Linked DNA regions of Homo sapiens: regions 1 and 3 are each linked to region 2. The links are contacts of gene promoters, found by promoter capture Hi-C in human tissues and cell types (Jung and others, 2019). All regions are on one chromosome and are shown on one strand. Each heading gives the region's core, a stretch centred on a gene start or on the middle of the fragment in contact. The rest is flanking DNA. Distances are from core to core; before and after follow the strand shown.

Region 1 (2,700 bases), core at 134-2,633, 170 kb after region 2:
AGCTTCACATTCATTATCTCATTTAATTGTTTCAAACATTTTATTATGGCTAGATAGCATTATTACCCTCATTTTATAAATGTGGGAGATGAAAGCATTGAGAGTTTTGGTAACTCCCAAGGATATGTAGCTAGAGAGGGGAGCATCCAAACTCACACCCAGCTTGGCTTCCCATGATATTCAGGTTCTTATCTACTGCATGATGGATAGACTTGGATTCAAATGCTGGCTCTGTCACCTACTTACTGTGTGACACTGGTAAGTTAGTAATACATTTTAAAATTTAGTTTCCTCTATAATAAAATGGGCATAATAATACCTAAATTGGTGTGTGAATTAAATAACACTATTTTGCTAAGCCCTTGGTAATGCCTGATACATGGTAAGCACTCAATAAATAATATCTATTGCTTTTGAAAACTTTTGTCATTAATGTTGCTATTGTATTTGTAGCATGTTAAGAGTTTTATAAATTCCTTAGGGGATATGGAAATGGAATAATCATATCAGAATTCCATTGCCTGGTGTATATAGTTATGTTAGGGTTGCCATACATGGTTCAGTTTCTTTCTTAAGTTTAGTTATTCACAGTTAAAACTTTTTATATAATTTGAAGCTAAAATTGAAACAAACGTTTTAGTTATTATATATATATACCTATATATACGTATATGTATATATACGTATATATAGGTATATATGTATATATATGTGTATATATGTATACACATAGGTATATATATACTTATATAGGTATATATATATATATATACCTATATATATACACATACACACACATATATACAAGACACACCCAATTGACAATAAAACCACTATTGTGGCATCCAGAATGGGGCAAATAGGTCAAAAGAGCCCCTTGAAGAATTAGGTTTATTTCAGCCTGAGTGTGATGTATTTCAGTAACTGAAAGCTTTGTTATTCAGAGCCCTATAGACTTAAGAATAATTTTAAAATGTTATAAATAATTGCTTAGGTTTAACTAAAAACATTTTTAAATAAAAGCTTTATTTAAGTATAGTTTACTTAACATAAAAATTCACAATGAAGTTTAAGTGATTTCAATGATTTTTGGTAAATTTATGGAGTTGCACAATACAACTCCAATTTAGAATATTCTCATCACTCCCAAGAGATCCCTTATGACATTTGTAGCCATCCCTATCTCCACCCCCAGCCCCAGGCAATCACTAATCTACTTTCTATCTCTATAGAGTCTCTTTTCTGGATTTTTCATAAAAGTGGAATCATACAATATATGATCTTTTTCATTCTAATAACATTTTTAATCACAGTTAATTTCCCAAAAGACACATGAAAACGATACTTTATATATTAAAAGGCTTTTAAAAATGATGATGCTATGTTTATAAAGGAAAAACTTCCAAAATTCATATTTTCCTTAGATAAAACCCTTTAATCCTATCTAGAACAAGTCAAGGTACAACCAACAAAAGCATTAAAAAAATCACATGCTATTCATTTGAAGCCATGAATACGGATCTATTTATTGGCAACCTAAGCAGAAAATACTAGTTTTTGGTTAACCATGTAAAAAATCCCCACATGAACAAGCAATGAAGAAATATCAAGACACATTGCTTCTGATATTGAAGTGGGGAATAAGACACCAAGGGGCATGTAGAATCTGAGATTTTACTGAGGGAGCCTGTGACCTCAAAAGTGAACCAATGTTAGTTGAAAAGACTTATGCAATACTTAGTTAGGTCCTCATTACCTCTCATATATTGGAAAAAGATGAATTAGAGTAAAATTTAGACCATTAATATATCATTTGGATCTTTGGCTGCTTGTCTTTTCCCAGAAGTGGATTAAAATACAAATTCATGAACTTGTTATAAGCTGACTACATGTGTTGCCTGATTTTTCTTGCCAAATACTAATGAGGGGACATAAAACTGATACATCGAAATGGGACTTTATTGACAGTGAAGCCAAAGTCACTTAAAAAAAAAAAAAAAAGCATGCTAAGCAGTATGTTGCTGTACTGAAACTGAAACATCCTTTTCCAGGGAATGAGAGCTGTCAAACAAAGCTAAGTTCTTGTGTTACCCAGAGAGCAGACTGTCAGTGTGCTCTCTGATAGAGACAAATGAAGGAATCGTTATGTGCTAGAATTTTAAATCTCTTGAATGCGCTAATGAATCATTAATTTTAGGGACCCTTCTTTTTGTTTCAGAACATAAGTGATTTTGCAAATGTAGCCTAAGTTCTCTGCGAATCAACTATTGTTTTCTAACATTTAGAAATGCCCATCATTATAAATCTCTGTGCAACAAGTTATTTTCTGAATGTTTTGTGCTGATAACTGTTTTTAAATTCTATATTATCTCAGTCAATCGCAGTTTTACATATATATATAAAATATATAATTTTCACTATTCATACAATTCACAGGGTTATGTTTAGCACAGTTCTTTGTCTTTCCTGTTGGAGGCTTGGGCTCAGAACAAGCACACTTTTATTTTCCACATCCTGTTGGCCAAAGCAGGTTGCAGGCCAGTCCAGACTCAAGAGGCAGGGCAGAGTGACTTCTTCTCTTGATGGGAGGAACCAAATGTCATTGCAAAAGGTCATGGACAAAGGACAAAGTGGATAATTGCAGCCACTTTGCAATCTGTAGTTATTTACCATAAGAAACTAAGAATTTTGCATATAGCT
Region 2 (2,700 bases), core at 182-2,681:
CGAATTAGGAGCGGGTGCAATATCTGGAGAAGCGACTGGGGAAGGAGAAAAGGAGAGGGGAAGGCGTCTTATTCAAGTATGATTTCTCTCGGGTCCTGGCATTGGCATAAAATGGCATCTGCCTCTTAGTAAACATGGCTAAAGCCCAGTCCAAAGGAATTTCCGCTGGCCGATTTAGGAATCAACAGAATAAGGTACCCTAGAGGTGCTCCAGTCACTCAGGGCAGGAGGCCTCACAGGCATGGGGTGTCGCCCCTTCCCTTTTTCCACGAAGCTCCTCCAGCCTACCCCTCCACTGCTCCGCGCCTTCATTCTATTTCCCCCTCTCACTTTGGATTTGAAAACTGGGCTTACAGGAGATGCAGCTGGCGACACGCGGGGTGTGACTGGACGGAGGAATCCAGAGGGCAGCTGAGGAGGGCGGAGAAAGGTCCCTAGGCAGCGCCACCAAGCAAGGGGCAGACAAGGAAGCTGTGGGGGGTCCCGGGAGAAAGCTGGGGCGGGACCGCGGGAAGGGAGTCTCACCTCGCGCACTCACCTGCTGCTGCCGCCCGAAAGCTGCGAACCGTGTTGCCTTCGCGCAGGAGCCGAGGGCGCCAGGGCTGCGAGCCTCCCTCCAGGGAGCCCGGTGTCCGGGCCGCCTGGACCGTGCTGTACCTGTCATAGAGCCGCAGCATGTGTTCAGAGACCTTGTCTTGCGGCTGCAGCTCGGAGTCCGGGCCACCACCTGCCGTGCGGTCACCTGGCACAGCTTTGCGGAGCTCCGGGAAAGGTGGCTTCGGTCTCTCTCCCTGCGCCAGGCTCACGCAGAAGCAGCCCAGCCACAGAAAGAGCAGCCTGCTCGCCCCAGCCATGGCTAGGTACCCGCGCGGCGCGTCGGCTCCCGGCGTCGCTGCGGGACACTCCGAAGGCGCAAGGAGCCGGCGGCGGAGCCGAGGGTTGAACTCCAAACCAGCTGGGGCGAGGGCGCACGGAGCCCGGGACGCGGCCGGGTGCAGCGAGATAGCGGCCAGCCCCACTTGCTGCGCTGACCCAGCGCAGCCTGACAGGTGGGCTCTTCCCCAGCAGCTGCGCGGACCTCACCCGCGCAGGGCGCTGCGGGCGCCGTCTCCACTCCAACGCTGAGAAAGAGCTGTAGGTCGCGGCGTGTGTGGCCCGGGTGTTTTCAAGATCTGTCTGTACCTTCCCTCCTCGCTTTATTTTTGGGAACACCCGGCCAAACTGGCCGCGCGAGGGACTAGGACTAGCTCTGTTTTGGGCGCCAGGTCGGAGCCGGGGCTGTGCGCAGCGGTCCGGAGGGCGCTCGATTGCCTTTTCCAGGGATTGGAGCAGCTGCGGCGCGGCTGGTCCGAGTTTTTTAGTGTACGTGTGTGTGTGTGTGCGCGCGCGCGCGCGCGTGTGTGCGTGTGTGTGTGTGTATGAGAGAGAGAGACTTAGTTCTTTCGCTCTCTAGCTGATCTGTAGAGTCCTCAGCCAATCTCTCCCACTCCCTCGTCCTCGCCCTCTTAGCTTGCACCAGGCTGGGATAGAAGCAAGGGAGGGGGGGAGTAACCAGAGAACTGGCAGCGGGAGGGAGAGAAGAGGAAGTAGGGGTGGGGATGGCTGGGGAGAGGAAGGGAAAAGGAGATTCAGGACTAAAGAAATGGTAGGAGGGACGGTTTTTTTGTTTTGTTTTGTTTTGTTTTTGTTTGTTTTTTTTTTTAATTCTCCAAGAACAGTGGCTGTGTGGTGGCTAGCAAGAGGGCAGAGGAAAACAGAACTTCTTCCTGGCTTTTCGGTCTTATGATTCCAAACAAAGTCACAACGTGAACACCATTCTCGCTTACTTTCCCGAGCCTCTTCTGACGGACACTGCGGGCCCCTGCACCTGCAGCCCGTCATCATAGCTTCCTGTCTTTCTGAGAGCATACCCATCATAACGCCCCTCTCTCCCGCATCATCTTCTCTCGAGGTGAGAAATATGTGCGAGTCAATATCATGTTAAAAACAAATAAGAAAACAAGCAAACACACCACAACCCCACCTACAGCTTCCCCCAAAGGTTTCCTTCCTACAGGTCCCCAAAAGGTTTCCCAGCAGGATGGTGCAGTGGTGGCTAAAAACAAGGGTGTGTGGAAGATCCCGGAGTCCGGAACAGAATGTAAGAGTCGCTAGCTTTGTCTTCCTAATTCTCTCTTGTCATGGCTGTACAATGGAGATTAAACTATGAGCAGCCTGGCGCAGTGGCTCAGGCCTGTAATCCCAGCACTTTGGAAGGCCAAAGCGGGTGGATCACGAAGTCAGGAGTTCGAGACCAGCCTTGCCAACATGGTGAAACCTCATCTCTACTAAAAATACAAAAATTAGCTGGGCGTGGTGGTGCGCACATGTAATCCCAGCTACTGGGAAGGCTGCGGCAAGAGAATGGCTTGAATCCAGGAGATGGAGGTTGCAGTGAGCCGAGATTGTGCCACTGCACTCCAGACTGGGTGACAGAGCAAACTTTGTCTCAAAACAAAAAACAAACAAACAAACAAAAAACAACTGTGAGCTAACATTTTTCTCCACACTTATGCTCTAGACATGCCTTGTTATTTATATTTCAAGTATATTACCAAATAATTTTCACAGCAAAACCCATTTTACAGATGAGGAAACTGAGGCAAAAGGATACATAGTAAGTGACAGAACTGAGATCCAAATTCAGGGAGTCTGATTTCT
Region 3 (2,700 bases), core at 187-2,686, 150 kb after region 2:
CTGCTGCTGTTGGAAAGTTGACCTATAGTGTTGTTCAAGTCTGCTGTTTTCTTTCTGAATTTTTGTTTTATCTGTACATTGTTGAAAGTGGAGAATTGCCTCATGTTCTTACTTATATGTGGGAGCTAAATGACGAGACCACATGGACACATAGAAGGGAACACCACACACCAGTGCATACTGGAGGGTGAAGGGTGGGAAAAGGGAGAGGATCAGAAAAAATAACTATTGAGTACCAGGCCTAATACCTGGGTGATGAAATAATTGGTACAACAAACCTCCATGACACATGTAACAACCCTGCACATCCTGCACGTGTACCCCTGAACTTAAAATAAAAGTAAAAACAAACAAACAAACAAACAAACAAAAAAGTGGACTATTGAAGTCCTCTATTATTATTGTATTGCTATCTCTCCCTTCAAATCTGTTGATATTTGGTTCATATATTTAAGAGCTCTGAGTGCATATTTTAAAAAATTATATCCTCTTAATTCGCTTCTGTATCACTCTATTATGAACTTCTTTATCCCTTGTGAAAATTTTCTATATAAAGTCTATTTTGTCTAATATAAGATTAGACACTCCTGCTCTCTTTTAATTATTACTTTATGTAACATTTTTTTCATGAAAATGTATTCATTTTCAGCCTATTTGTGTCCTTAAAGGTAAACTGAGTCGTTTGTAGGCAGCATATGGTTGGATAATGTTTTCTTATCCTTTCATCCACTTTTTTGATTGGGAAATTTAACTATTTACATATATAGTAATTATTGATAGGGAGGACTTTTAATTGTCATTTTGTTGTTTTCTGAACATTTTGTAGTTTCTTTGTTCCTTTCTTCTTCTCTTGCTGTTTTTCTTTATGATTTCATGATTTTTATAGTGGTATGCTTTGATTCCTTCTCTTTATATTTTCTGTATCTTGCACAGGTTTAATTTGTGTTTACCGTGAGGCTAATATATGCCATCTTTAGTTATAACAGTCCATTTTCACATGATAAGAACTTAAGTTCAATCACATACAAAAACTCTCAACTTTTCTTCTTCATTCCTCTCATATGCTTAATGTTATTAGAGTCAAAATGTATAACTTTTAATATTGTATATTTATTAGCAAATTATTGTAGTTATATTGTTATGCATTTGTCTTTTAACTTTTATATGAATTGAACATGATTTATGCATCACCATTATTATATTTTATCTATATCCTTATTTTAAGCAATGAGATTTATAATTTTATGTATTTTCATGCTTCTAATCAGCATCTATTTGTGTCCTCTTCATCTTGAAGAATTCCCTTTAGCATTTCTAATAAGGCAGGTCTTGTAATGAGCTCTCTCAATTTTTGTTTTAGAGTTTTTCTCTCTCCTTCATTTCTGAAGGATAGCTTTGCTCGTATATTATTTTTGGTTGGCAGTTTTTTCTCTTTTAATATTTTGAATATATTATCTCATTTTCTTCTGTGCTACAAAGTTTCTGCTGAGAGGTATACTTATAGTCTTATGGTGATTATCTTGTATGTAATGAGACACTTTTTACTTACCACTTTTTTTTTCAATTTTTTTTTTTTGAGACGGAGTCTCGCTCTTTTGCCCAAGCCTGAGTGCAGCGGCGCTATCTCGGCTTACTGCAAGCTCCGCCTCCCGGGTTCACGCCATTCTCCTGCCTCAGCCTCCGGAGTAGCTGGGACTACAGGCGCCTGCCACCGCGCCCGGCTAATTTTTTGTACTTTTAGTAGAGACGGGGTTTCACCGTGTTAGCCAGGATGGTCTCGATCTCCTGACCTCGTAATCCGCCCGCCTCGGCCTCCCAAAGTGCTGGGATTACAGGAGTGAGCCACTGCGCCCGGCCTTACTTACCACTTTGAACTTTGCTTTTCCTTTGACTTTTATAATTTGATTACAATGTATCTTTATGTAGACTTCTTTAAATTCAACCTATTTGGGTTCCTTTGGCCTTCATGAATCTAGCTTTCCATTTCCTTTTTGAGACTGAGGATGTTTTCCATCATTATTGCTTTAAATCACTTTCTACCAATTTTTATCTCTATTCTCCTTCTATAACTTCCATAACACGTATATTGATTCTCTTGGCAGAGCTGCATAAGTTTCTTAGGCTTTCTTCAGTCTTTTTCATTCTTTTTTTTTGCTCCTCTGATGGAACAATTTAAAATAACCTGTCTTTAAACCTACTGATTTTTTATTCTGCCTGATAAAATCTGCTGTTGAGGCCTCTAGTAAATTTTTCATTTTGGTTATGGTGTTCCTCTGCCTCAAAATTTCTGGTTAATTCTTTTTCATCATTTCTATCTCCTTATTGAATTTCTCATACATTTCATCTATTGTTTTCCAGATTATGTTCAGCTGTCTATCCACGTTCTCTTGTAACTCACTGAGCACCTTTAAGATGATTATTTTGAATTCTTTTGCAATTCACAGATCTCCATTTATCTTGGGTTAGTTACTAAAAAATTGTTTTCTTATTTAAATTTTGTTATGTTTTCTTAATTCTTCATATTCCTTGTAGGTTTACTTTGTTGTCTGTACATTTAAAGAAGCAGATACCTCTTCCAAGCTTTATGTACTAGTCCAGACTCAGAGAGGCATACACACTGGTCAATAGTGCCTAATATGAGGCAAGATAGAGGCCAACTCAACAAGGAGCACACTGTAAGGCTGGAAACTTACTGGAAAC

What was found. The method cuts DNA at HindIII sites, captures the fragments that hold promoters and counts their contacts. A contact is called where the count stands out against the background at its distance.
Region 1: a fragment that was not itself captured here is called in contact with the fragment with the promoter of BMP3 in region 2 in 1 of the 25 tissues and cell types used here (H1 embryonic stem cells).
Region 3: a contact is called between a fragment that was not itself captured here and the fragment with the promoter of BMP3 in region 2, in 1 of the 25 tissues and cell types used here (stomach).

What each region holds. Positions count from the first base shown.
Region 1 is chr4:80,862,503-80,865,202 of GRCh38, reverse strand. All of the region lies in intron 3 of CFAP299 (cilia and flagella associated protein 299), which reads right to left. Among named protein-coding and RNA genes, the nearest start is that of BMP3, 170 kb to the left of the region's middle. The HindIII fragment of the contact is 3,790 bases long and covers 1-2,700 here.
Region 2 is chr4:81,029,439-81,032,138 of GRCh38, reverse strand. BMP3 (bone morphogenetic protein 3) reads right to left here and starts at 1,431. Exons shown (of 3, transcript NM_001201.5): 1 at 539-1,431. The coding sequence starts at 854. The HindIII fragment of the contact is 7,363 bases long and covers 1-2,700 here.
Region 3 is chr4:80,881,514-80,884,213 of GRCh38, reverse strand. All of the region lies in intron 4 of CFAP299 (cilia and flagella associated protein 299), which reads right to left. Among named protein-coding and RNA genes, the nearest start is that of BMP3, 150 kb to the left of the region's middle. The HindIII fragment of the contact is 3,077 bases long and covers 1-2,700 here.